4 separate regions of the Homo sapiens genome follow, and all the other regions are linked to region 3. The links are contacts of gene promoters, found by promoter capture Hi-C in blood cells and fetal thymus (Javierre and others, 2016). All regions are on one chromosome and are shown on one strand. The core of a region is centred on a gene start or on the middle of the fragment in contact, and the rest is flanking DNA. Distances in the headings are between cores, read along the strand shown.

Region 1 (6,868 bases), core at 3,407-5,906, 720 kb before region 3:
GCACAGCCTGCCCTTTTGTTCTCACCTGGAGGAGGTGAAACTGGCCTGAGCCCAGAGGAGGGCAGCCAGGTGTGAGCTGGCCTGGCCCAGGCCCAGCCCTGCCTCCCGCCCCTTCTCCCCACAGTGGACTCCGTCTGCCTCAAGTGGGCACCCCCCAAGCACAAGCAAGTCAAGCTCTCCAAGAAGTGAGCAGCCTGGCCCCTGCTGTCGGACCTGAGCCTCCTGGCTCCCAGCCTGTAAATATGTATAGACCTGTTTTGTCATTTTTTTAATAAAGTCAGTTCTGGTGGCCCTGGACTTTGGAGGGGAAGGGGAGGCCAAGAGCGGATGTTCTTCATTTCACTTCACACATGCACGGCAAGTTGTGCTCAAACATTTTAATCATTTCTGCCCTGTTACTCCCACCCCAGATCCAAGCGCCAGCCCAGTTCCGGTGGGGGCTCAGTCCTCCGGAGTCCAGGAGTCAGGGCTCGGGGGCGCTCAGCGGCCAGTGGGCAAGATTGGGGCCTTTCCTGTCCTCGAAGCTGCACAAAGGTGGCCCCAGCCCAGAACACAGGGAGAGGGCAGAGAGATGTGCTCATCAGTCTGGGCAGGCGGGCCGGGAGCAGTCTTCCAGAAACAGGTGGGAGCCAGGGCTCATTTTCATAGCCAAGGGTCCCAGGAGCTCCCCAGGAGCTCGGCCAATGGGCTGGTCCATGGTGGGTGAGGGGCCAGAGGCTCTGGCCATTGCTACAGGCAGTAAAACTCCTGACTCTCAGTGATGGTCCCAAAAAGCACACCCAGAAGAATGGGCTCAAAGATCAAGATGGGGCCCCAGCCTCCCGCAGAGTCCTGAAGGAAGGAGTGGCTCAAGTCAGGCCCTGGGTCCAAAGGCCATCAGGGAAGGACCAGGCTCCTGTCCTTGAGTGTGATGCATCCATCCTGGAAGTAGGGCCAGCTCAGTGCTCGCTGAGCCATGGGGAGAGGAGGCCCAGAGCCAGGCCCAGAGGCAGGAAAAGGATGGGCCTCAGCAAGCCCTGGGCTGGGGCAGAGCTGAAGGCCAGGTGGCTGCCACAGAGGTTGCTGTCGGGCTGGGACTCCTGGGTTTGGGGCACCACACGAGGCTGGAGTTCTGTCACCTTGCTTTGGATCCAGGAGGCATAGCTGGAGGCCAGAGTGTACACACCAGGCCTGTTGCGGGCCCCACAGGCATCTCCCCAGCTCACAATGCCCGTCAGGTACCAGAGACCCTCCACAGGGCAGGAGAGTGGGCCCCCAGAGTCACCCTGAGGAGAGAAGCCACACAGCAGCCATCAGGACCGGGCCAGGCCTCCTTTCCGAAGTTGCACTGGTCATCTGCCCCCCGGGCCTGTGCTTACCTGGCAGGCGTCCTTGCCCCCCTCCACATAGCCAGCACACACCATGTCCTCTTGGACAAAGTGCGGCTCCTCAGGCTTGGCGTCGATGTTGTACAGGCAGTTACACGTCTCACGACTGATCAGAGGCACCTCGAGTTGCTGCAGTGGCTTGGGCGTCAGGAGGCTCACTGTGGGGGTAAAAGAGGCTTACCCTGGGCCCCTCCCCAAGTCAGGTGCCCCTCCACACCTCTAGGCACCCAGCGTCCCACCTCACCTGAGGGGGCCACATGACCCCAGCCAGTGACAGTGCAGTGGAGGCCGTTGGGGAAGGAGGCGTTGGCTGCAGGGAGGCAGATGGGCCGGATGTAGCGGGAGAAGGTGATGGGTCTGCTGAGTTGGAGGAGTGCAATGTCGCCCTGGGAGCCCTCCTGGAGGTAGCTGGGGTGGGGGATGATGTCCTTCAGGGTGCTGACCTTGGCGTCCTCGGAGTAGGAGTCTAGCTGGTGGGCCCCCAGCTTGACCTCATAGGCTTCCTTGTGGTGCTCGCTGCAGGCAGGGGGCAAAGGCTGAGACCCAGGAGACCTCTCCTTGTTCCCCAACCCCCACTGCCAACCCCTGATTCCGATCAGCCCCTTTTAGGTCTCAAATTGCACCTTAGTTTTATCATGTAACCTCTGACCCCTCACCTTCACTCCTAACTGGTCCTTCCAGACTTAGAACTGACACTCTCAGACCCAACCCAAGAACCCCAACCTCTGACCTGGATTGACCCATTAACTTTGACCTCCAGCCCACTTTTGACTTTCACCATTTGGTACCTGGGGAAGCAGTGAGCAGCTGACAGCACCCACTGCTCAGACACGAGAGAGCCACCACACACATGGACGCCTTCATAGGTGATGCTGACCTGCCAGGGCCACTGACCGGCGACTGCACTGCTGCCACCTGTGATGCGTGCTTGGGGGGCCACACCGCAGGGAGCTGCCCAGGGAGGAAGGGAAGGGGTCAGGTTGTTAGCCTGGCCACTCCTATGCAGCCCAGGAGCTCTGATATAGAGCTTGGGAAGTGGGTTCACAGGAGTCAACACCCCTTTGTCCCCTCCCAGGCATGGGCAGTTGTGCCCCTTCTGTCCACTACCCATTACCTAATTCAGGTCTCATGGCAGCTTCTCTCCTTGCAAGCCTTCCATCCATCCCGCCCCTTACAAGTCTGAAGATTTTCATAAACCCCCAATCTGACCAGGCCACAGCCCTGCTTAAACCCTTCTTGGCTCCACGCGGTCCTTAAGATACATTCCAGACAGACCATGGCACCGCCATCGGACCCAGCCGTCCCCTCTGGACCCTTCAGTTGTGTACATCAGGCCACACACTTGTTTACCCGGGACCTTGGCTGATCCAGGTCACTCTACCTGGTATGCCCTTCCCCATCCTTACTGTCTGGCAAACTTCCCTTTGCCTGTGGATGCTTGATTGGAACAGCAGCCCCTCCGTAGACAGGCGGGCTTCTGCTGGCTGAGTTGGGCATTGCCTCCGAGCCCAGCACCCCCCAACCTCCACCATGCTCCCCGATGCTGCCCAGTCTCACAATTGTTCCGGAGTCCACAACTGTGTCTGTTTCCACCACACCAATCTGGGCATTCCCTAGGGGCAGATTCTCATGTCTGCAGTGCCTGTGGCGTCGTGGACATATATTCAACAAACCAACAGCAGAACTGGGCTCCTGTGATGTGAATGTCTAGTTTCCAGGACAGCCCCAGCCCCACCCCCATTGAGGCCACTTTGGAGTGGAGCCCAACTGCTCTTCACAAAGTCATCTAGGAGCAGAGAAAATTGCAGACCAGATCTTTCTCTCCCTTATCATCATGACAATAGCCACTATTTAGAGAGCCTAGCGGCTGTGCCAGGCCCTGGAGGGGCTTTCGCTTCCTCATCTCCCTGCATCCTCTCCACAGCCCCAGGAGACGGACATGACCAGCTTCATTTTAGAGGTGAGGAGTCTAAGGCTTAGAGAAGTGGGGGGACTTGGCCAATGACACACAGCCAGTGCATGGGGAAGCCAGGATTGAAAGCCGGTCTGACTCAGAGCTGGGTTGGGTGCCTTCCAAGAAAGGAGACCCTTGGTTTGGTTCCCTCAAAACCACCTCCAGGATGGGAACGGTGGCTCACACCTGTAATCCCAGCACTTTGAGAGGCCAAGGCAGGAGGATCGCTTGAGCCCAGGAGTTCAAGACCTGCCCGGCCAACATAGTGAGACCCACATCTCTACCAAACAAAAACAAAAACAAAAACAAAACACAACTAGCTGGGTGTGATGGCATGCACCTGTAGTCCCAGCCACTAGGGAGGCTGAGGTGGGGAGGTGGGAGGATCACGTGAGCCCGGGAGGCTGGATCACTGAGACTGCAGTGAGCTGCGATCGGGCCACTGCACTCCAGCCTGGGTGACGACAGACCCAGACCCTGTTTCAAAAGACAAAAACCAAACCAAAAAAACCACCTCGATTGCCCCACTTTGGGAGTCAGACGTGGATCTGAATCCCAGCTGCACCTTCACTGGCAGTGTGCCCTGGGCAAGTCCCTGCTTCTCTGCCCATAAGGTGAGGGCTAAAACCCCCCACTCTGGGAGCCCTAAGAGAATCTAGTTGGAAGGCAGCCCAGCTGAAGGCCAGGCACTGGTTAAACCCCAGGGGAATCCGATCCAAGTCACCTCCCCCTCCCCTCCTCCCTCTCCGAGGAAAGTCTCACCTTCTGCCCCTTCCGCTCCTAGAAAGAAAGAGAAAGAGGAGGGGTGAGTAGGGAAGACTCGGGTTCCCTGACCCCTTAGTACCCACCACTGCTCCAGAGGGCTGGCCCCTTCCCTGACAGAGCCAAGGTGGGAAAGAGAGGCCAAGAGCTAGGGAGGCCGGGGGTTTTCTTGGGCCCCAGACAAGGGCACACCCCAGAAAATGATCACGCCGGCTCCCTCCAGTGCATTGTCCCCACCCTGCCCCCACGTCCTCACTTACCTGTCCCCGACCGGAGTAATCCAAGATAGAGCAGAATGGCCACAGCCCCCAGCTGCCCAGGCCCCAGGACCCCCTTCTGGGCCATGGCCCAGGACAAGGGCCCCTGGGGCAGACTCCAGGCACGCAAGGTAGGAAGCCTTGGGGTGGTGTCGAAGGCAGGACCCAGATGTTGGCTCAGAGGGAAGGATCCCAGAATCCGGGCTGGAAAGGGGCAGCAAGTGTCCAAGGCTGGCCTCTAAGGCAGGGAGCGGCCGCAACGGGAGACGCCTGGAGTATCCGAAGCGAGCAGTGTGGACGAGTCACCAGCACCGTCTGGCCACGCAGGGTCCTCCCAGGAGTGGCTGCACCTACCTGCCCGCCCCTCCCCTGGCCCCGCCCACTGGCTGGGCTCCGCCAGCTCCTCTTGCCACCAAAGTCATGAGTCCTTTCAGAGCTGCAGGCCCGTGTGTGTGCATGTATGTGTCCGTGTGTATGTGTGTGCACATGCATAGGCCTTTTGTGTGTGTGTCCCGGTGTGTAGTGTGTATGTGGTGTGTGTGTATGCCTGTGTAGGCTGTGTGTGTCCTCTTATGTGGTGTGGTATGTGTGTGTGTGTGCATGTACAGGCTGTATGTGCACATGTGTAGGCTGTGTGTGTCCCTGTGTGTGTAGTGTGTGTGTCTGAGTGTGCGTGCATGCACGTGCATGTGGTTTGTGTGTGTGTGCAGTCTCCCTGGAATGTGACGACTCTCCTCCGCCTCAGGTCTTTCAGGTTATCTCAGGCCAGTTATGCCCCCCAGGGCCTGGCCCCAGCTTTTATTATCTGGAGCCACAGCCACTCCTCCCTTCTTCCCTCCCTCCTTAGGCTGGTTATGGGAGCTTAAGACACTATGGTCTGTCCCCTGCCAGGCCCTTTCTGCGATGCCTGCACCTCATGGGTGGTGGCGAGCTTGTGGAGCAGCACCAATCATCCCACAGACATTTCCTAAGTGCCTATGATGTTCCCAGGTGTCCAGGACAAAACAGGCACCAGCCCCGTCCCCCTTGAGCCCTGAGCTCATGGTGAAGTAGGGGTGACACACTTCAATCAAATAATCACAAACAGGCTGGCAAGGTGGCTAGTCGGCTTTGGGAGGCTGAGGCTGGAGCATCACTTGAAGCCAGGAGTTCCAGACCAGCCTGGGGAATATAGCGAGGCCTCATCTCTACAAAGAAATATAAAAATTAGGCAGGCATTGTGGCGCATGCCTATGGTTCCAGCTATTTGGGAGGCTGAGGCAGGAGGATTGCTTGAGCCCAGGAGTTCAACGAAGCATTGAGCTATGATCACGCCACTGCACTCCAGCCTGGGCAACAGAGGGAGACCCTGTCTTAAAAAAAAAAATTGCAATTACACAATAATTTCAAGCTAGGAATAGTGATGAAAAAGAATGGCGTGAGCACACCACAGCCTGGCAAAGGCTGGCATTGTGAAAGGGTCCTCGAGGAATTGCCTTGGAAACTGAGACCGAAAGGGATTATAAAAGGTGGTAAGGCGAAGATGGGGGGATGGGGTGCAGAGGGCAGAGGCTCAGGGAAAGAAGGCTTGCCGTGTGGCTGCGGTGGGAGTGAGGCATGTATCCTCCTTGAGGGCCACTCTGGCCGTTCAAAACACCTGTTGAGGCTGGGTGTGGTGGCTCACGCCTCTAATCTCGGCACTTTGGGAGGCCAAGGCACACGAATCACGAGGTCAGGAGTTTGAGACCATCCTGAACAACATGGTGAAACCCCATTTCTACTAAAAATACAAAAATTAGCCAGGCGTGGTAGCACGCACCTGTAATTCCAGCTACTCAGGAGGCTGAGGCAGGAGAATCGCTTGAACCCAGGAGGTGGAGGTTGCAGTGAGCCGAGATATTGCGCCATTGCACTCCAGCCTGAGCGACAGAGCGAGACTCCGTCTCAAAAAACAAACAAACAAAAAAAATTGTGGAGCTTGGATGTGGTGGCTCACACCTATAATCCCAGCACTTTGTGAGGCCAAGGTGGGAGGATCATTCTCAAGATCAGGAGTTTGAGACCAGCTTGGCCAACATGGTAAAACCCCGTCTCTCCTAAAAAATACAAAGAAAATTAGCCAGGCGTGGTGGCGCATACCTGTAATCTTAGCTACTCGGGAGGCTGAGGCAGGAGAATTGCTTGAACCTGGGAAGCCAAGATTGTGCCACTGCACTCCAGCCTGGGCAACAGAGGGAGACTCCATCTCAAAATAAATAAATAAATAAAATAAATAGGCCAGATGCAGTGGCTCACGCCTGTAAATCCCAGCACTTTGGGAGGCTGAGGTGGGCGGATCATCTGAGGTCAGGAGTTCAAGACCAGCCTGGCCAACATAGAGACACCCCACCTCTACTAAAAATACAAAAATTAGTTGGGCATGGTGGTGGGCACCTGTAATCCCAGCTTCTCAGGAGGCTGAGGCAGGAGAATTGCTTGAACCTGGGAGGTGAAGGTTGTAGTGAGCCGAGATTGCGCCATTGAACTCCAGTGTGGGCGACAATAGCAAA
Region 2 (7,289 bases), core at 2,840-5,339, 780 kb before region 3:
GAGTAGCTGGAATTATAGGCGCCCGCCACTACATCTGGCTCATTTTTGTATTTTTAGTAGAGAGAGGATTTCACCATGTTGGCCAGGCTGGTCTTGAACTCCTGACCTCAAGTGATCCACCCACCTTGGCTTCCCAAAGTGCTTGGATTACAGGCATGAGCCACCGCACCCAGCCCTCTTTACTTTTTAAAAAATGTTTTTATTTTTATTTATATATTTATTTTTGAGACAGAGTTTCACTCTTGTTGCCAAGGCTGGAGTGCAATGGCACCATCTCTGCTCACTCCAACCTCCGCCTCCCCGGTTCACGAGATTTTCCTGCCTCAGCCTCCCGAGTAGCTGGAATTACAGGCATCCACCACCACGCCTGGTTAATTTTTTGTATTTTTAGTAGAGATGGAGTTTCACCATGTTGGCCAGGCTGGTCTCGAACTCCTGACCTCAGATGATCCACTGCCTCGGCTTCCCAGAGTGCTGGGATTACAGGCATGAGCCACCGTGCCTGGCTTATTTTTATTTATTTTATTATTTATTGTTATTATTATTTGAGACAGAGTCTCCCTCTGTTGCCCAGGCTGGAGTGCAATGGTGTGATGTCAGTTCACTGCGACCTCTGCCTCCTGGGTTCAAGCAATTCTTCTGCCTCAGCCTCCCAAGTATTTGGGATTACAGGTGCCTGCCACCACAGCCAGCTAATTTTTTGTATTTTTAGTAGAGATGGCCATGTTGGCTAGGCTGGTCTGGAACTCCTGACCTCAGGTGATCCACCCACCTTGGCCTCCCAAAGTGCTGGGATTACAGGCTTGAGCCACCATGCCCGGCCTATTTATTTCATTTTTATTTATTTATTTTCTTTGAGAGAAAGTCTTTGTTGCCCAGGCTGGAGTGCAGTGGCTGCATCTCAGCTCACTGCAGCCTCCACCTCCCGGATTCAAGTGATTCTCCAGCCTCAGCCTCCCGAGTAGCTGGGACTACAGGCGAAAGCCATCACACCTGGCAAACTTTTGTATTTTTAGTAGAGACAGGGTTTCACCACATTGGCCACGCTGGTCTCGAACTCCTGACCTCAAGTGATCCGACCGCCTCAGCCTCCCAAAGTGCTGGGATTACAGGCGTGAGCCACCGTGCCTGGCCTTTATTTTTATTTAGAGATTGGGTCTCACTCTGTCACCCTGGAGTGCAGTGGCTCAATCATAGCTCACTTCAGCCTCAAACTCCTGCACTCAAGCAATCCTCCTGAGTAGCTAGGACTATAGGCACCCACCACCACACCTCGCTAATTTATTAAAAATTCTTTGTATATAGAGATGGAGGTCTCACTACGCTGCCGACAGTGGTCTCAAGAACTCCTGGCTTCAGATGCTCCTCCACTATGGCTTCCTAAAGTGCTGTGATTACAGGCATGAGCCACAGTGACCAGCACCCCTCCTCTCTAATTTCCTTTATGGTGTCATCTGGACAATACTCCTTGCAAGCTTACCATGGGCAAGGTATCATTCTAAGCATTTTGTGCATAATACTCAACTACTCAAGCCAACTGCACAGCTGCCTAGCAGTTCATTATGAGTGAATGTTTGTGTTCCCTGTCCATTCATATATTGAAATTCTAACTCTCATTGTGACTGTATTTGGAGACAAGGCCTTTATGGAAGTAATTAAGGCTGAATGACGTCATAAGGGTATGGCCCTGGTCCAGTAGGATTAGCGTTCTTATGAGAAGTGACACCACAAAGAAACAAGCTTACTAGTCACGGTCCCAGCCAGTGTTCAAATCCCAAACACCTGCTCTCTGAGCCCTGACTATTGCTTTGCTAGCATTACACATCTTATGGTTTGGCTGTTAATTCTTCATCACCAGCACCAGAGTCCAGGCTGGCAAAGGGCTAGGAAACCGATCATCTGCCTCCTCTACACCCAGAACCCTGTGTGGTGACCCAAAACAAATGGAAAGAACCAACCTCAGATGAAATTTGAACCCAGGTCTGTAGCCTCTGCCTCCTCCACAGTAGGAGTTTGTGAGAATGTCCACCAATAACTGTTTATTAACTAAATTCCTCCACCTTTCCAACTCCACAAGGCTCAACTATTGCCCCAATATCCCACAGTGGGCTCCCTGTCGTGGCGATGAAGCCTTGCTTTGCCTCACTACTGGCTTAGGAAGGGGATGAAGTTCTGCTGTCTCACTAGGCAAGCAAAGATTCAATTTCCAAAAATCCTAGGCTAGGACCCTGGGGCAGGGATGAGGAGAAAAAGGAGGCACCTCAATCTTCCCATCTCTAAACAAGCAGTCACCACACAGGCCTCACGGCCAGGAGTGACGTAGTGAGCGGATGAACCCTGCAGAAGTGAGCGCTAATCATATCCTAGGCCTCCTACCGGGCCAGTTCACAACCTGATCCCAACCTACTTTTCCAGCCTCAGCTCCAGCGACAGAGTCCTCCTCCCGGCAGCGACCGAACCTCCAGCCACAATTCTCAATCCTCCACCTCTAGATGCAGTTTCCTGGGCTCGGGGAGCCCTTGCCTGCCTTCTCCAACGGGAAAGCCCCTTTACATCCTTCAAGAACCCCCTTCCCTAGTGCCCTCAGGAATACTTTATGGCAGTAGAGAGGTAAGGGCCCCACGCCGCTCTGGACCTCAGTTTCCTCATCAGTAAAATGGGGTCCCTTAAGTTTGTGGGAGTTTGAAGGGCGGTGGGGCCTACGAAGCGCGCCGAGGAGCCGAGAGTTGCAGAAACCCGGAGCTCCTCGCTCCTCGCAACCGTCTGTACGCGGCGCCCCCGCCAGCCAGGCAGCCCCTGGAGGGCAGGACCCCGGTTATAAGCCTCAGAAAACGTGGCTTCGGAGGACGTGGCAAGGAGGACTGAACGAAGGATGAGGAGATGAACAAATGAATGGACGGAAGGCCGAATGAGGGACAAAGGCTTGCAAGATGGCGTTCTCTAGGACCGCGGGAGTGGTGGCCGGGCCTCAGCAGGGGAGGGGGCCGCCGGCGCCTGGGATCTTGCAGCGCGGGCCACGCGACCGGGACAAAAACCCAAAACATGGCGGGCTCTAGGACCCCCGGGACCACACCGCGCCGGGCCAGCAGCCGCGCGGGCCGAGCCTGGGTGTCCGCAGCCCAGAACCGCGGAGACAGCCGGCGGGTTCTAGGACCTGCTGGGCCCGCAATGCGCCCGGGGCCGCTCACAGCCCGCCCCGCCCGCGCTGCTCGCGCTGGGCCAACCCGGCCCGCCCTCGGCGCCCGCAGGGAAACTGAGGCCAGCTCGGATCGTGGCCGCGTGGGAGCTGCCCGGGGCCCTCGCGGCTTCCCGCCGACGTTTCCTACCTGATGAGACTTGTGCTGACTCCGTGGCGTCGGCGTCGGCTCCTCGCACCGACGGAGCCCGGACCCTGCCAAACAGGGGCCGGCGCTAGGACCCAGCGGGGGGCGGGGAGGTGGGACCGGTGGCGCGGCGAGCGGAAGTGAGGGATCTTCCTCAGCTAGGAAGGAAGGGAAAGTTCCCGGGGAACCTCCAGCCTATGGCGGCAGAGAAGCATCTTGCAAGAGGTCTCTGTGTGTGCTGAGGCAAGGGGACGCCAGGCAGGCTGACGGTATACGCCCGCCTTGTGTTAGTCTGGGGCCAGGTCACCGGCAATGTCTTCAAGAACCAGAAGGTGGGAGGACAAAAAGGCCATGCTCAAGCTCTGCAAAACCTAAGTCCAATTATATTCCACAACATTTCCTTTAATAGCAAGGAGTGGGTTTCACGAAGTTTTCTCCATCTGCCTTGGGAAAAGTCCTCCAGAGAGCCCCACGAAAAGTGTCACCAAAGTACTGTGGCCAGGGCTGTAGAATCTTTTTCTCCCTTTCTGCGCCTATTCAATATGCACCGGAACGATTCTAGCTGCTCTTGCCGGAAGTGTGGCTAGCTTAGCGTGCAAAGACGCCGCGTTGTGACCTACGTGGGCGGAGTCAGCCGTGCAGACCTAGAACTTAGCGCCGGAAGTGTGTCTGCGTAAAACTGCGGCTCGGAGGCGGGACAGGCAGTGCTCCCGAAGCGGAAGTTTCGCGGGGAAGCTTTTGCACCTAAGGACACTTCCTGTTTCCTAGTAACAATAGGAAGTGTCCGTAGAGCTGGGAGTAGACTCCTGGCTCATGCCAGCTGCGCCCTCTTTTCTCTACCTCCTTCCTCTTCCCCCCTTCTCCTTTCCCTCTTTCCCTTCCCTCCCACCTCCCGGGAACCCTGGCTGAGTGTGCGTGTGTGGGAGCGCGAGAGCCCCCCGACAGCCACCCCTTGGGGCGCGCGGCTGCAGTTAGGGTAAGGGTCCCAGTGCGCAGGCGCGCTCTTGTTCGCGGTCCCCAACTGACGCGCCCGCGGCGGGAAGGAGAGGGGGCCGCCGGTGCGAGGTAGGCGTCCTGAGAGGAAATTGGCAGACGAGATGAGTGAGGTCAGAGGACTTCATTGGTGGTTGACTAGGGGAGGGGACTTTTGATCAAAGGGGCTTTGTGAGGTGAGAATTCCGGGGGCAGGTTCAGTGAAGGGGTTTACGGTCGGAGACAGTTGTACTGGGGTCCCATGGGAAGAAGAGTCAGAGTTGGAGAAGGACAAGACGATGTAGGGGGCATGAGAGAGCAAGGGCTTTGGGATGAAGACCGCCTCAGTCAGGGGGTTTGCTGTTACGTGAACTAGAATAACAGGCATTGCCGTGTGTTCTGAGGATTGAGTAACACAATGAATATAGTTAGCACAGTGCCTGGCACATGGTAATATAATACTCTTCATGAGTTGCTGTCATCATCAGTATTAAGAGAGGAGGCAGAAGAAAAAAATGAGAAAGACTGGTGAGGGTAAGATCAGGAGGCATGGGAGAGAAAAGGTAGGCAATGAAGTGACATTACAACCTGGTATTGATGTTATTCCCAAGATGGAAGATAGTTTGAGTTCAAGGGAAGTAGATAAAAGAAGTCGCTAAGAGAGTCTTTTGGGGTTTTTTGTTTTTTTGAGATGGAGTCTCGCTCTGTCACCCAGGCTGGAGTGCTGTGGTGGGATCTCAGCTCACTGCAACCTCCACCTCCCAGGTTCAAGCAGTTCTTCAGCCTCAGCCTCCTGAGTAGCTAGAATTACAGGTGCCCACCACCACGCCCGGCTAATTTTTGTATTTTTAGTAGAGACAGGGTTTCACCATGTTGTCCAGGCTGGTCTTGAACTCCTGAACTCAGGTGATCCACCAGCCTCGGCCTCCCAAAGTGCTGGGATTACAGGCGTGAGCCACCACACCTGGCCCAGTTAAGAGAGTCTTAACTCTCTTAACTCTCTTGTCACAAGGAAAAGAGACCTTGTGACACTGAAATGACTCGGGGTGGTGGGGGAACAAGCCAGCCCTTTCCCTGAAGGAGGCCTCTAACCTCTCCTCTCAGGTCCTCAGCTATTAACTGGAGGAAACAGCTGCTTTTTCAGTGCTTCTCAGCTACTCTGTTTAGCTGAGAGATGAAGTAGGAAGATTTGGACTTCTCTTATTGAAAGGCCTAGAGAAGGTTTTGGTGTCCTTTTAAGATGTCACAGAAAATTTTTGTTTCAGGATTGTAGGGAGCAGATTCCTACTGTTCTTAAAGGACAGTAATGCCTTTTGAGTCTGGTCTGAAGAACATAACAGGTCTGTGATCAGAAGTAGGTTGCATCTCTCTCAACTTTAATTTCCTTAGCTATACCTGTAGGGATGACTTAAGCCTAGGGGAGCTCCTATATTTGGGAAGCTTGTGCACAGGGAAGCCTTAAATGATGGTGCCTGCAGATTGGATCTAGTAGAAATTAGGTCCTTGGGCATGGATGCTTGGGGAACCTCTCAGTGACCTCAGGTGAACTTGTTGCTCGTAGAGCCAAGAGGCGAAGTTAATTCAGGCCTTCCTTTTGACCACTGCCCCCTCTTCCTAGGCCTTGGCCCCTCCACCAGAGGAAGGTGCTGCCACGTGTCTGCTCCTTCTGAACCTCCAGGTTTCTGCTACGTTGCCCCATGGAGGACACACCCCCCTCACTCAGCTGCTCCGACTGTCAGCGCCACTTTCCCAGCCTCCCAGAGCTCTCTCGGCACCGAGAACTGCTCCATCCATCTCCCAACCAGGACAGTGAGGAGGCTGACAGCATCCCTCGGCCCTACCGTTGTCAGCAGTGTGGGCGGGGCTACCGTCACCCCGGGAGCCTGGTTAACCATCGTCGGACCCACGAGACTGGCCTTTTCCCCTGTACCACCTGTGGCAAGGACTTCTCCAATCCCATGGCTCTCAAGAGCCATATGAGGACACATGCTCCTGAGGGCCGCCGCAGGCACAGGCCCCCACGCCCCAAGGAAGCCACTCCACACCTCCAGGGTGAGACGGTGTCCACTGACTCCTGGGGCCAAAGGCTTGGCTCTAGTGAAGGCTGGGAAAACCAGACAAAACATACAGAAGAGACACCTGACTGTGAATCTGTACCTGACCCCAGGGCAGCTTCGGGTACGTGGGAAGATCTGCCCACCAGACAAAGAGAAGGCTTGGCAAGCCACCCAGGTCCTGAGGATGGTGCAGACGGCTGGGGACCCTCCACTAACTCTGCCAGAGCCCCTCCTCTCCCCATCCCAGCCAGCAGCCTTCTTAGCAACTTGGAACAGTATCTGGCTGAATCAGTAGTGAACTTCACAGGGGGCCAGGAGCCCACCCAGTCCCCTCCTGCTGAGGAGGAGCGGCGGTACAAATGTAGTCAGTGTGGCAAGACCTACAAGCACGCCGGGAGCCTCACCAACCACCGCCAGAGCCACACGCTGGGCATCTACCCCTGTGCCATCTGTTTCAAGGAGTTCTCTAACCTCATGGCTCTGAAGAACCACTCTCGACTGCATGCCCAGTATCGGCCTTACCACTGTCCCCACTGCCCCCGTGTCTTCCGGCTCCCCCGGGAGCTGCTGGAACACCAGCAGTCCCATGAGGGTGAAAGGCAGGAGCCACGCTGGGAGGAGAAAGGGATGCCCACCACCAATGGGCACACAGATGAGAGCAGCCAGGACCAGCTCCCCAGTGCACAGATGCTGAATGGCTCTGCGGAGCTCAGCACCTCTGGGGAGCTGGAGGACAGTGGCCTGGAGGAATACCGGCCTTTCCGCTGTGGGGACTGTGGCCGTACTTACCGCCATGCTGGGAGCCTCATCAACCATCGAAAGAGCCACCAGACAGGTGTCTACCCCTGCTCACTCTGTTCTAAGCAGCTGTTCAATGCGGCTGCCCTCAAAAACCATGTGCGGGCTCATCACAGGCCCAGGCAAGGAGTTGGGGAAA
Region 3 (6,720 bases), core at 4,215-6,714:
TAATATTGTAGAAGACCTTTACTGAACACTCTGCCAAATAATTAAAGCAATATTTGTGCTCTAGTTCAATTGGCTATCCCTTTTACCGTGGCATTTCACCAACCAGAAAAACTTTTTCTTTTAAAAACTCAAGCAAAACAGCTAAACCAAAACATGTTAAAAAATTTTAAAGAAAAAAAGCTATAAAATCAAAAGGAAGGAATTGCAGAAAGTAAAAAGTTTCCTCTTCAAAGTTTCCATTCTTGTTACAGGATAAATAAGTGTTAGAAATAATAGTTTCTTTTAAAGACTAATTTCTTTCAAGCCTCCTTACTTTGTGCTAATAACTCTTTGTTTAAGCCCTATCCTATGTAGCTGTTAAACATGCTCACAGGCACATAGTACATTCTATGTCCTTGTGCCTTAACGGAAATACCTGTCCTGGATGTGCTCACAGGCATGTCCCAGCTCACAGCCTGTCACTTCCTTATTTAGGAATGTTATTACTTTTCTAAGTCCTTTCATAAACAACTTCCTCTTTTCATTTATCTTTCCATTGCTTTTACCTGTTTAAAAAATTTTAAGTTATTAGCCAATCAGGTTTTAATTTAAATTATGAAGTCTGTCTCCAGCCAATAAAAACAGGACACAAGAGCAGGGACAAGCTACATAAAAAATAAAAATTGCTTCCCTCCCTTGTTCAAATGTGCTCTTGCCATTGTTCCATCTGCAAGGAGCACCCTTTCTGCAGAAAGTAAAATTTCCTTGCTAAAAAAACCTTTTTGTCTAAATGCTAATTTTTCCTTACATGACCGAAAAACAAGCATTCTGTTTCTAAATAAACGTCTTACCTATAACATATACCATTACAAAATTACAAATATCCTTTCGAACATCTGTAAATTTATGTGCTCATGATATTAAAATTTATATTTTTATCTGAAAATAGTTATAATTCAGTGAGACACAAGAACAAAATTATGAGAGAGTTATCTACATCATTGAGAAAATCCTCCTGCCACTACCAACGTAAGTCGTGATCACTCACTTTTACTAAAGCTGAGAAACATCCATTTGCCCAGCGGAGTCCTGGAGTGAGTCTGTGTGTGTGGATGGTGGTCCCTGAGACTTGGTTATAAAGAAGGGATACTGTCAGCTCGTCTCCCTCCAGGCCCATAACTGTCATGTCACCTGTAGAAGCAGGACAGCCCTGGCCTCGAGATTATTGGAAAGGGGAGCAACAAAAGGAAAAACTGAACACATTTAATTCCTGGAAAAGATCAGTGTAGGACAGATGGGTTTCAAACTTTAACGTGTGCAAGCTTGTTTTCTTAGGTAATTTTGCCCAGGAGGGTTGTCTGGTCTCAGTTATTGCCAATAAAGTAGAAGCAATAACTATAGTTTCAAACTTTGTTTAATTTCTGTGTTGCTTTACCAAACATCCTTGCTAACTGAAGAAATTTCTGGGGGCCTTCACACATGGTCCCCAGTTGTCCCTACGTTTCAATATTACAGGTAGTCTATGTAAAACTTTTTTGGGAATGAAGAAAATGCCCCCTGCACCAGGCTTACATAGCGCTTACAGTGAAGTTGTTTCTACTTACAGGGATGTTTAACTACACAGTCAGCATGAGAGCATGTGGAATAAAATGATTAACACATTCTTAGCAACTGACAACTTTTATTTGCTTCTGAGACACCACCAACCACACCTATGTTATAACTAGTGCTAACTTTAACCTTGATCATGATTGCCACATTTGGAGTTACACTTTCTTAATCAAACATCATCTGATACTGAAGTGGTGACTTCTCATGCACTTAATCTATAGATTTTCCCCCAAGGCACCAGTTCTGAATATGTTTGAGTTCATGCTGGTGTACCTCTCATGTGCCATATCTGAGGCTCTAACAAATAAACTCTCCAGGCCGGGCACGGTGGCTCATGCCTGCAATCCCAGCCCTTTGGGAGGCCAAGGCAGGCGGATCACTTCAGGTCAGGAGTTTGAGACCAGCTGGCCAATACGGTGAAACCCCGTCTCTACTAAAAACACGGAAATTAGCCAGGCATCATGGCAGGCACCTGGAATCCCAGCTATTCAGGAAGCTGAGGCAGAAGAATCACTCAAACCCAGGAGGCAGAGGTTGCAGTGAGCTGAGATCGGGCCACTGCACTCTAGGCTGGGCAACAGAGCGAGATTCTGTCTCAAAAATTAAAATAAAATAAAATACAAAATAAACTTTCCATTCAGCTGCAGTCAGGACCACTTGATCCCCAGACTTCTACTGTCTTCAGTGACAATTCTCCCTGTCATCTTAAACCCAGCTGCCATCACTATGACGTTGGTGCTCAATCCAGTCAGTGTCCTTAGGTCTTGATTTATTTTCCTTCTCTGAAGCTTTTCAATTACTTCTTTATAAATTATTTTGTCTGATGCTCACAGAAAAAGCCTGCCTAATAAGAACCCTATACCCACAAAAACTAGCTATTAAAAATGAAGGTTAAATAAAAACATTTTATGTAAATAAAAACTGATACAATTTGTTGCTAGCCAACTGACCTTATGAAAAAATGGCAAAAGAAGTTTTTCAGGCTGAAAGCAAGTAAATCCAGACAATAATTTGAATGCATAAGAAAGACAAAGCACACACTAGCAAAACTAATTACATAATTATAAGACAGTGTAAGTGAATTTATTTATTTATTTATTTATTTGCACATGAATAAATTCTTTAGTGGCGATTTCTGAGATTTTGGTGCACCCATCTCCCAGGGGCCTAATAACAGCTCCAGAAGGCCTGCCATCACTGGTGCCCTAGCATGAGCTCCAGAGGTCTGGGACTTCCCCTGCCCTGCCCACAGCCTATGCTCATGTGCATCACTAGGAGGACTTGAGAACAGGCCCACCTCACCTGCCTCTCTCCCACCCTTAGTGGTCAAATATTCCACTTGTGGACCTGAGGACAGCATTGTACAGGTGGTAGCCTCTGGCATGAGTCCACCAGGGTCCTAAAAACAGGCCAAGAAAATGTGCAGCCAGCACTCAAGCATGCTGTCTAAAGGTCTAGGAATCTCCCATGCCATCCACCACTGCTGTCATCTGGGTACTCTTGGGGTCCTAAGGATGGGCCCACCCAGACAACCACCAGCATCCACACTCATGTGTCACCTAAGGCTCTAGGGACTGTCTGATTCAGCCCATTGCAGCCACCACAAACACTGTGAGTGCTGCCTGGAAGCCTGAAGTTGCCTCAACCCCACTACTCTCCTCATCCACACGGTACACACTGCTCAGAGGCCTGAGGACTTGCCCCATTTCCTAGCCCACTGCTGTTACTACAGACATCAGAGCAAGCCTCCTGAAGGCCTGAGAATCAACAGGCTTAGGCACACTAACACCAGTGCCCACATACACTACCCAGCAGCCCAAGGACAGACACCCTCAACCCTTTACTGCTGCCACTGTCACCATGGGGGCTGAAGGACTGGCCTATCTGGTGTTCCATTCCTACCAAAACCTCACCACAGCCTCAACTAGCAAACACAGCCTAAGCAAGGTTATACCTCATAATGAAGGAGAAATAAAGACGTTCCCAGACAAGCAAAAACTGAAGAAATTCATCACCACTAGACAAGCCCTGGAAGATTACCTAGACAGAAAATCAATAATGAAACATCAGATTTAAACTGTACTTTAGACCAGGGGTCCCCAACCGTCGGGTCACAGACCAATACCCACCCCTGGCTTGTTAGGAACCAGGAAGCTCAGCAGGAGGTGAGTGGCAGGTGAGCCAGTGAAGCTGAGCTCTACCTCCTGTCAGATCAGCAGCAGCATTAGATTGTCATAGGAGCTCAAACCCTATTGTGAACTGCACATGCCAGTGATCCAGGCTGTATGCTCCTTATGAGAATCTAATGATAAATGTAATGCACTTAAATTATCCTGAAATCATCCCCCTCCCCTAGTCCTAGGAAAAATTGTCTTCCACGAAACCAGTTCCTGGTGCCAAAAAGGTTAGGCACCGTTGCTTTAGACCAAAGGAACCTAACAGACATCTGCAGAACACTTGATCCAATGACTGCAAAACATACATTCTTCTCAGAAGCACATGGAACAGTCTTCAGGATAGACCCTCTGTTAGGCCAGAAAACGAGTCTTAACAAATGTTTAAAAATTGAAATCATATCAAGTATTTTCTCATACTACAGTGAAATAAAGCCAAAAATCAGTAGCAAAAGGAACTTTGAAAACTGTACAAATACATGAAAATTAAATGACATGCTCCAGAACAACCATTGGGTTAATACAGAAATCCAAACAAATATTTAAAAAATGAAGATGAAAACACAATATTTTGGAAACTATGAAATGCAGCAAAAGCAGTGTTGAGGGAAGTTTACAGCAGTAAATACCTACATCAAAAAAGTAGAAATATTTACAGTAAACAACCTAATGATACACCTCAAGAAACCAAAAAAGCAAGAACAAACTAAGCTCAACATAAGCATAAGGAATAATAAAAATCAGTCAAGGTGCAGTGGCTCATGCCTGTAGTCCAGCACTTTGGGAGACTGAGACAGCTGGATCACCTGAGGTCACGAGTTTGAGACCAGCCTGGCCAACGTGGTGAAACCTCTTCTCTACTAAAAAATACAAAAATTAGCCAGGTGTGGTGGAGTACACCTGTAATCCCAACTACTCAGGGGGCTGAGGCAGGAGAATTGCTTGAACCCAGGAGGCAGAGGCTGCAGTGAGCCGAGATGGCACCACTGCAGTCCAACCTGGGCAACAGAGTAAGACTCCGTCTTAAAACAAAACAAAACAAACAAACAAACAAAGAAATAATAAAAATCGGAGAAGTAAGCAAACTAGAAACTTAAAAAAATACAAAGGGCCAATGAAATAAAACTTTTTTTGAAAACATGAAACAACATTCATAAACCACTAGCTAGACAAAAAATAGAGAAAAGACCCAAATAAACAATGTCAGAAATGAAAAAGCAGACATTTCAACTGATACTGCAGAAAGAAGTATGAAAGATAATCAGAGACTCCTAAGAACAATTGCATGATAACAAACTGGAAAAATTAGAGAAAATATCTAAATTCCTGGACACATACAAACTATCACTATTGAATCAGGGAGAAATAGAAGACCCAAACAAACCAATAATGAGAAATGAGATTGATACAGTAATAAAATGTCTCTCTGCAAATAAAAGCTTGGGGCTTGATAACTTGACAGCTGAATTCTACCAAACTTATAAAGAAGAACTAATATCAATTTTTCTCAAAGTATTCAAAAAATAGAAGGGGGGGGAATTCTTTGTAACTCATTCTATGAAGCAAGCATTACCCTGATATGAAAACAATACAAGGATACAATGAAAACAGAAAGCTACAGTTTAATATGATGAATAAAGATGTTAAAATCTTCAACAAAATACTAGCAAACTGAATGCAACAGCACATCAAAAAGATAACATGCCACAATCAAGTAGGATTTATCCCAGGGATGGAAGGATGGATTTCCACACACAAACCCATAAACACAATACATCACATTAACAGAATGAAATACAAAAACCATACAATCATCTCAATAGATGCAGAAAGAGCATTTGACAAAATTTAACATCTTTTCATGATAGAAACGCTCAACAAACTAGGCCTACAGGAACATACCTCAACTTAATAAAGGCCATATATGACAAATCCACAGGTAACATTATACTAAATAAGGAAAAGCTTAAATCTTTTCTGCTAGGGACTAGAACTAAACAACGATGTTCATTTTCACTATTTCTATTCAACAAAGTACTGGAAGTCCTAGCCGAAGTAATCAGGCAAGAGAAAGAAATAAAAGGCATCTAAATAGGAAAAGTGAAAGTTTAATTGTTGCTTTGTGCAAATGACATGATCTTATATTTAGAAGAACATAAAGATGCCACCAAAAAACTATTAGATTTGATAAATATGATCAGCAAAGTTGCAGGACACAAAATCAACATACAGAAATCAGGAGCATTTCTACATAATAAGTAAGTGGCTGAAACAGAAGTCAAGGAAGCCATCTCATTTACAATAGCTACAAAATATTAAAATACCTAGTAATAAATTTAGCTGTGGTGGTGAAAGACTTCTACAAGGAGAACTAAAAAACACTGATGTAAGATACTGAAGAGTACATAAAAAAATGAAAGGACATTGCATGCCCATAGATTCCATGCCCATAATTTTTTTGTCTAGCTAGTGGTTTAGCCCATAGATCAGAAGAATTAATATTGTTAAAATGACCAAAGCAGTCTACAGATTCAATGCAATCACTATCAAAATGCCAACTTTTTCACACACAAAAGAAGTCTAAAATGTGTATGGAACCAACAAAGAGCCTGGAGTCAAAGCAATCCTGAGCAAAAGAACAAAGCTGAAGACATTGTACCACCTGACTTCAAAATATCATACAAGGTCAGAGCAACCCCAAAAGCATAGTGTTGGTATAAAAATAGACACAGAGACCAATAGAGCAGAATAGAGAATTCAGAAAAAAACCACATATTTACAAGTAACTGACTTTCAACAATGGCACTAAGAACATACGTTGGGAGAAGGATACCCTCTTCAATAAATGGTATTGAAAAAACTGGATAGCTATATGCATAAGCTATTCAATTCATTTGAAGCTAGACTTCTATCAGTATATATATATATATATATATATATATCAGTATATATATAT
Region 4 (7,489 bases), core at 2,587-5,086, 850 kb before region 3:
GTGTTTGGATAGCAGAAAGAAGCCCAGTGCCAGCCGAGCGCGGTGGCTCATGCCTGGAATACCAGCACTTTGGGAGGGCGTGGCGGGAGGATCATTTGAGGCCAGGAGTTCAAGACCAGTCTGGTCAACATAGACCCCATCTCTACAAAAGCAAAAAGAATTAGCCAGGCATGGTGGTGCGCATCTGTAATCCCAGCTACTCGAGAGGCTGTGGCAGGAGGATCCCTGGAGACCAGGAGGTCAAGGCTGCAGTGAGCTGTGATTGCACCGCTGCACTCCAGCCTAGGTGACAGAGGAAGACCATGTCTCTAAAAACATTTTTTTAAATATAAATAAAGGCAGCCCAGAGCAGCTGGAGGATATGGATCCATCACCCAGGGTTCGTTGGTCTCTGCACCCTGTGATTTCAGGGCTGCGTTTCTAAAGCACCTACTGTGCCTGCCTCATACCTGAGGGCCTTTGGGGCACGGGGCGGTCCCTCAGCAGCCTTCATCCTGTCCAGCCTCAGATTCAGGCTCCTGCAGTGCAGGCCCCACCTTCCTCCCAGGGTGTCTCCGCACTTCTCCCACCCGACTCCACAGCTGCGTCTCAGACCTCAGCCCTCCCTGTGCCCCTCCTGTCTTCTCCCATAACCCACCTTCCTCTCCACCTCACTCACTCTGCTCTTTCCTCTGGAGCCCCACTCTGGCTTCACTCCTTAGACCCTGGGACACCTATTTAGCTGATTAACTCCTTTTCACAGCCTCCACAACCAGCCTAGCACCAACCAAGGTTGCCTGGTAAACTGGACGCAGAAAACCCTGGTTCAAGCCCACCTCAACCATTAAAAGCTATCTGACCTTGGACAAGTCAGGTTTTTTTTACCCCCTCTGGCCCTCAATGTACTCCAAAATAAAATAGGGGCCATGTCCTGCCCATCGCAGGGGGCTTGTGTGGTGTTGAAGAGAAATAAACAAGCCATCTGCTGGGTAACAGACACACAGCACTGCTGGGCGCCAGGCCCCCTCCTAGGCACCTGATGCATATTAACTACTTCCAGTCCTCAGGACAACCCTGTGAAACAGGCACTCTTACTTCTCCCAACTCATACGCGAAGAAATTGAGGACCAGAGAGGTTAAGCAACTTGCCCAAGGTCTCACAGGAAGTAGCAAAATTAGAATTTGAACCCAGACAGTCTGGCTCCCGAAACCACTGTGTGACAAACGGACTTGAGAACCCCTTGGGAATGCCAAGGTACTGTTGGAAAGACAATCAGTCCCCTGGGCTAATGTCCCCTCCCACCACCGCCCCTGCCTCATCCCTCCCAGTGTCTCAGAGACCCCGTTTCCAGGTCCCCCACACCCTGCCAGGTGTCTCCTGCATCCCAGGCTCCTTGCTTTCAACTGTAGCAGGGAGACCCTTACGCTACCTGAATCTGTCAGCTTTTCCCACCCCGCCCGCCCCCTCTTGAATCTCCAGTTTCCCTGAGCTGTGACTAATACCAAAGCCACCACATCCACTCAGCCCCTTCACCCTTCCACACCACCTCCGGCAGCCACAGCCAACAGGATTCCTTACCTCTGAGCAGGGGCCCCTGACTCATTCATGAGGCCTCCCCCTCCCCTGCCTCCCCCTTACCCCGCTTAGCCTTTTCCCTCCCTCTTTCTCGAATTGTACCCCAATTCCACACCACCTGATCCCAACCCACTTCCATTTCCCTGGGTTTTGGAGTCATGGAATAGTCCTGGTAGCAGGGGAACTGGGTTCAAGTCCGGATCCCTCACCTGCTAGCTGTGTGACCTTTGGAAAGTTATTCAACCACTCTGGGCCTCAGTTTCCCCAACTCTAAAATGAAAGAGCCTCCCCGTCCACTTGCCAGGAGGTCAGTGGGGCTCTAATGACATCACGGATGAAAGCCTGCTCTGCAAACTGAGGAGGGGAATTGACAGCACCGATGCTGAAGCCGGCCTGCCTGGGTTTGAATCCTGCCTTTACCAGCTGTGTGACTTTGGTCTAATTACTTAACCTCTCTGAGCTTAGTGTCCTTATCTATAAAATGAGATAACATATATCTATATATCTAAAAAGATATTTATATATCTATGAAATGAGATAACCAGTCTCATAGGATTGCTGTGAGGATCAAAATGAGTGAATATGCATAAAACACTTCAAACAATGTTTATTATTACTGTCACTTTCCTCATGCCTGAGTGTATATTCAGTAAAAATGTAATAAAGAAACCTTTAAAATTCCCTCCCTCAGCCACCAGCTCCTCCTTGCTTCCCATTTGGCAACCTGTCTGTCCCCAGAGACAGCGGTCACTTGCCTCCAAACACCTTCTTCTCGTCTGTCTGTAACCTGGGTCCCCACCCCCAAATCCAGGGGACAGCTCTTCACCCCCAGTGCTGAAACTTCTGTTTCAAAGGCCAGAAAAGCAGAGACCTGTGTCAACCTAGCAGACAGGAAACCCAGATTGCAGTCTGCCCCCCACCCACTTGCTTGGTGACCTTGGACAAGTCCCTTCCCACGCCTGAATCTCAGTTTCCTCATCTGTCAAGTGGGGTAATAACCCCTGGGGTAACAACCCACCAGTTCCCTGTAAAGGCTCAGTGCATTGGGCAGCTCAGCCGGGGCCGGTACCCTTATTAACATAACACCACCAGCCCAGCACAGTGCGGACTGTCAGTGCTGCCTCCTCGGGCCCCAGGTCATTTCTCCAAATACCCCAGCGTCCTCCCTGCCCCTGAAACCATTCTCATCGAACCCCACTCCCCAGTTCCTCCAGGTAGCAGCCTCCACTGCAGTCCTTCCCCTGTCCCCCCAAAACCAGGGACTGCCTGGCCAGACTCTTGGAGCCGGGCCTCTTCAGGCCTGCAGACCTGGGGCCTGCATCAGCCCTTGACTGCCCGGGGTGCCCCAGTTCCCCCAAGCAGAGCACGGCCCGTGTTCCATGGCCCTCTCCTCTGCATCCCCATCTCCCACCTCTGGGTCACCCTGTCTCAGGCCCTGGCCCTCTGGCTCTCTCCGGAGGCCACCTCTTCCCTCCCTGTCTCGGAGAGATGCCCCCTCCCTATAGGGAGTGACACACGCGTGTGCACACACACACACACTTCATTCACTGCCAGGTGCTGGCATCTCAGTCCCAACCTGTGTCCTTCCCCGTAGCATCCCCTGAATCTGGGTCCTGCTAGACTCTCAGCCTGGCCCAGTCACCGCCCCCATGCTTCTCTTTGGCAAACCTGCCCAGGGGATGACAGTCTCCTCCGGTTTCTCCTGATATCCACTCTCTCCCATCCCCAGACCAGACCCCGGGGCCCTCCTGGGAATGCGGGGTGTTCGAGGCCCCTGAGACCTCTCCTGCCCCCTTGTGTCTTCATGGCCTCCAACCCCTTCCAGGCACTGTCCCCAAAATGCAGGTTCACTGGAGAGACATCAGGCGCCTGAAGATACTGGGGTGCTCCGGCTACCAACCTCCGATCTCATCCTTCGCCCCCACGTCCCAGCACCTCCCCCACTCCATCCCCACGCGCTCCCCCAATATTGGGGTCCCGCCCCCCCATTCTCCCCACCCCCAAGCTCACACTCCGCAGCTCTTGAGTCCGATCCTTCATCCTGCGACGGCTCCTCCTCCTCCTCCTAGTCCTCCTGCCTCTGCTGCTGCTCCGGGTCTCCCGCCTCTGTGCCGGAGGCCGGGGTCTGGGGGCGCCGGGGGGCGCCGCGGCCGCTGCGGGGGGCCTGCGGGCGGGGGCGGGGCCGGGGGCGACTGGCCGAGGGCCGGGCAGGGGCAGGGGCCTGGGCCGGGCTCGGCTCTGCCGGGCTGCGGTGGCGATGCGGCTGCGGCACAGGGTAGGATGGAGGGATGCGGGAGCCGAGCGCGGGGGAGGGGGGCGGAGGGAGGTGAGGAGGAAGCGAGGGCGGGGGGAGCGGGAGCGCGCAAGGAGCAGGGGGCATGCGCAGCACCCGGGCCGGGGGCGCCTGGGGGTTGTAGTCACGGGCTTGGGGGACACCCGAGGAGGGGGCGGGAGAGGCCTGGAGGCGGGTGGGGGTGGGCAGAGCCCGAGGAGCAGGGAGAGATGCGGAGAGCCAAGCGGAGATGCTAGGGTGGCCCGGGGGGTGGGGTGGCCCGGCGGAAAGAGGGGGTGACGGAATGAATTCAGGGAATAACCTGGGAGCCAGGATGTGGATCCCTTTCCAGGAGACACAGATCGCGGCTGTGTTTTGTGTCTGGTGTCTGCGTGAGGCTGCGCGCCGACCACCTCTGGGTGCGAGCCCATGTGTGTTCTTGCAGGAGGCTCTTTGGACACTATAAATAGAAAGACCGACCCTCTGTGTGGTTTTTACGATGCAGGGAACCAGCCAGGTGCTTGCTGAGAAGGACACGGGGCTTGTGTTGCACAGCCTGGGCCTCTCCCGCCGCGGTGGGTCTCGGAGCTCTGCTTGTCTGCCTCCAGGGACAGGGTGCTCACTACCTCCCAGGACCTCTTGGCCCATCTGCAGATGGCTCTGACTGTTGAACATGAAATTTGTCCTTAGTGGGAGGGGAAATCAGGTGCCCCTGAGGGTCTGAGTGACCTCCTGTTCTGATGCCCACCTCTCCTCTCCCCATCCTTACACCACACCAGCTCCTCCCACCCCCTGCAATGGGGCGCCGGTCCCCAATGGGACAGGTCTTGACTCTCAATCGATCCTCCTGCCTCAGCCTCCCAAAGTGCTGGGATTCCATGCCTGGGCCACCGCACCCGGCATTCTCTTGCCAGGTACCCAGTGACCTCCTTGGTGCCAAATCTGTGTCTGATAAACCCTCATCCCACACCGCCAGTCGGGCCTTACCATCCCTGACCTCTCAGCAGCATGTGACCCTGATGAGCCCCTCTTCCTGAAACCCTCCTGTCTGTGGTGCTCCGCCCACCTACCCCCCAACCTGATCTGTGAGTGTTGTCTCCCAGCCTCTTTCCAGGTCCTTACCTTTTTTCCCACAGCCCTTCAACCTCAGGGTTCCCTGGGCTCCGTCCATTCTCTCTTTTTTTTTTTTTTTGAGTTAGGGTCTCATTCTGTTGCCCAGGCTAGAGTACAGTGGTGCAATCTCGGCTCACTGCAGCCTCAACGTCCCAGGCTCAAGTGATCCTCCCACCTCAGCCTCCTGAGTAGCTGGGACTACAGGCACGCGCCACCACACCTGGCTAATTTTATTTTTTGTAGAGACAGGGTCTCACTATGTTGTCCAGGCTGGTTTTGAACTCCTAGGGTCAAGCGATCCTCCTGCCTCAGCCTCCCAAAGTGCTGAGATTACAGGCCTGGGCCACCATGCCTGGCATTCTCTTCCTTCTTTACCTGCATCTTTCTGCACCTCCGTGTCTGCAGTGCCCACATCTGTACCTGCGAGCCAGATCCTCCCCCTGTAAGACAGCCCCTACTATATGCCTAAGCTCTGAGCTGGGCACCAAGAAGACAGAGATTGAAGATGCCACCAGAGCCATGAGTAGATCCATGACTACAGTGGGCATGGCTAGCGCTGACGTGGGGACCTCAAGGAGGTGGCTGTCCCCAAAGTGTTCCTTCCTGTGTTCTCCCTCAGAGATGGCGTCATCTCCATCCACCCAGCCACTCAAAGCACAGAAAGCTGTCCTTGCCTCCCCGCCATTATAATGCCAGCACGTTCTGGGCATCCAACGTGTTGCATTCACTATGCTGGTAGCTCCCAGAAACCTCCCAACCTCACAGTAGCCACTGCTAAGATCCCAAGTGTATAGACAAGGACACTGAGGCTTTGCATGGTCACATAACATATCCAAGTTCACAAGGTTAATAAAGGGCAGGGCTGGGGTCTTGTTTGCTTTTTTTTTTTTTTTTCCAGAGACAGGGTCTCACTCTGTTCCCCAGGCTGGAGTGCAGTGGTGCAATCACACCTCACAGCAGCCTTGACCTCCTGGGCTCAAGCAATCCTCCCATCTCAGCCTCCTGAGTAGCTGGGACTACAGGTGTACACCACTGTGTCCAGCTAATTTTCTTTCTTTCTTTCTTTCTTTTTTTGAGAGAGAGTCTCGCTCTGTCACCCAGGCTGGAGTGCAATGGCGCGATCTTGGCTCACTGCAATCTCCGCCTCCTGGGTTCAAGTGATTCTCCTGCCTCAACCTCCCAAGTAGCTGTGATTACAGGTGCCTGCCACCATGCCTGGCTAATTTTTATATTTTTAGTAGAGACAGGGTTTCGCCATGTTGGCCAGGCTGGTCTGGAACTCCTGACCTCAAATGATCCACCCGCCTTGGCTTCCCAAAGTGCTGGGACTGCAGGTGTGAGCCACTGTGCCTGGCCCTAATTTAACTTTCTTTTTTTCTTTTTTTTGCAGAGACGAGATTGGTCCTAGCCTCCTGGGCTCTCACCTCGGCTTCCCAAGTGCTGGTATTATAGGCATAAGCCACTGTGTCTGACCTTGTTTGTATCTTTTGATTGCAAAGCCCATTCTTCTTTTCTTCTTTCTTCTTCTTCTTCTTCTTCTTCTTCTTCTTCTTCTTCTTCTTCTTCTTCTTCTTCTTCTTCCTCTTCCTCTTCCTCTTCCTCTTCCTCTTCTTTCTTCTTCTTCTTCTTCTTCTTCTTCTTCTTCTTCTTTTCTTCTTCTTCTTCCTCTTCCTCTTCTTCCTCTTCCTCTTCTTCCTCTTCCTCTTCTTCCTCTTCCTCTTCTTCTTCTTCCTTCTCTTTCTTCTTTCTTTTTTCCTTCTCCTTCTCCTTCTTCTTCTTCTTCTTTTTTAAGAGATGGGGTCTTACTCTGTTGCCCAGCCTGGACTCAAACTCCTGGGCTCAGTCTTCCTACCTCATCCTCCTGAGTGGCTGGGACTACAGGGGCACACCACTGCACCTGGCTCACAACCCATTCTTGTAAAAGCATGCTCTTATAGCTCCTCTCTCAACTGTGACACCCAGAGCCGTCTCTAGGCCCTCTCCTGTCCCCACCACCTCAGGTCAGTCTAGGCCCTCACTGTCTTTCACCTGGGCCGTCAGCACAGCCTTCTCTCTCTGGTCTTCCCACTTGAACAAAGCCCCTTTCCTTTACATATGTCTTCCTCCCCAGTCCTTAATGTGATTGCCCCCAAAACAAATGTGACCTGCCGGGCGCAGTGGCTCATGCCTGTAATCCTAGCACTTTGGGAGGCTGAGGCAGGTGGATCACCTGAGGTGGGGAGTTCGAGACCAGCCTGACCAACGTGGAGAAACCCTGTCTCTACTAAATATATGAAATTAGCCAGGCGTAGTGGCACATGCCTGTAATCCCAGGCACTAGGGAGGCTGAGGCAGGAGAATTGCTTGAACCTGGGAGGCGGAGGTTGCAGTAAGCCGAGATCATGCCATTACACTCCAGCCTGGGCAATAAGAGCGAAACTCCATCTCAAAAATACATAAATAAATACATAAAAATAAAAAATAAAAATATAAAAATTAGCCAGGTGTGGTAGCATGTGCCTGTAATCCCAGCTACTCTGGGGGCTGAGGCAACAAGTATGGTTGAACCT

What was found. The method cuts DNA at HindIII sites, captures the fragments that hold promoters and counts their contacts. A CHiCAGO score of 5 or more calls a contact.
Region 1: a contact is called between the fragment with the promoter of PRSS8 here and a fragment that was not itself captured in region 3, in 4 of 17 cell types (fetal thymus, naive CD4 T cells, total CD4 T cells and 1 more). The highest score is 7.4, in fetal thymus.
Region 2: a contact is called between the fragment with the promoter of ZNF646 here and a fragment that was not itself captured in region 3, in 3 of 17 cell types (naive CD4 T cells, erythroblasts and non-activated CD4 T cells). The highest score is 5.7, in naive CD4 T cells.
Region 4: the fragment with the promoter of STX1B here is called in contact with a fragment that was not itself captured in region 3 in 5 of 17 cell types (fetal thymus, endothelial precursors, total CD8 T cells and 2 more); the score reaches 5.9 in fetal thymus.

Annotation. Positions count from the first base shown.
Region 1 is chr16:31,131,071-31,137,938 of GRCh38, forward strand. PRSS8 (serine protease 8) reads right to left here and starts at 4,657. Exons shown (of 6, transcript NM_002773.5): 1 at 4,344-4,657; 2 at 4,084-4,101; 3 at 2,156-2,318; 4 at 1,612-1,883; 5 at 1,359-1,525; 6 at 363-1,265. The coding sequence starts at 4,428. The coding sequence ends at 939. KAT8 (lysine acetyltransferase 8) reads left to right here. Exons shown (of 11, transcript NM_032188.3): 11 at 125-289. The coding sequence ends at 189. RefSeq lists enhancers at 878-1,823, 2,772-3,718. The HindIII fragment of the contact is 17,481 bases long and covers 1-6,868 here.
Region 2 is chr16:31,070,333-31,077,621 of GRCh38, forward strand. ZNF646 (zinc finger protein 646) reads left to right here and starts at 4,090. Exons shown (of 3, transcript NM_014699.4): 1 at 4,090-4,299; 2 at 5,914-7,289. The coding sequence starts at 5,993. ZNF668 (zinc finger protein 668) reads right to left here and starts at 3,908. Exons shown (of 3, transcript NM_024706.5): 1 at 3,327-3,908. RefSeq lists enhancers at 2,784-3,584, 2,876-3,170, 3,790-4,323, 3,829-3,968, 4,324-4,856 and a silencer at 3,059-3,518. The HindIII fragment of the contact is 1,677 bases long and covers 4,057-5,733 here.
Region 3 is chr16:31,851,822-31,858,541 of GRCh38, forward strand. No RefSeq gene overlaps it. Among named protein-coding and RNA genes, the nearest start is that of ZNF267, 19 kb to the right of the region's middle. The HindIII fragment of the contact is 526 bases long and covers 5,202-5,727 here.
Region 4 is chr16:31,006,802-31,014,290 of GRCh38, forward strand. STX1B (syntaxin 1B) reads right to left here and starts at 3,837. Exons shown (of 10, transcript NM_052874.5): 1 at 3,566-3,837. The coding sequence starts at 3,595. RefSeq lists an enhancer at 3,873-4,374. The HindIII fragment of the contact is 27,284 bases long and covers 1-7,489 here.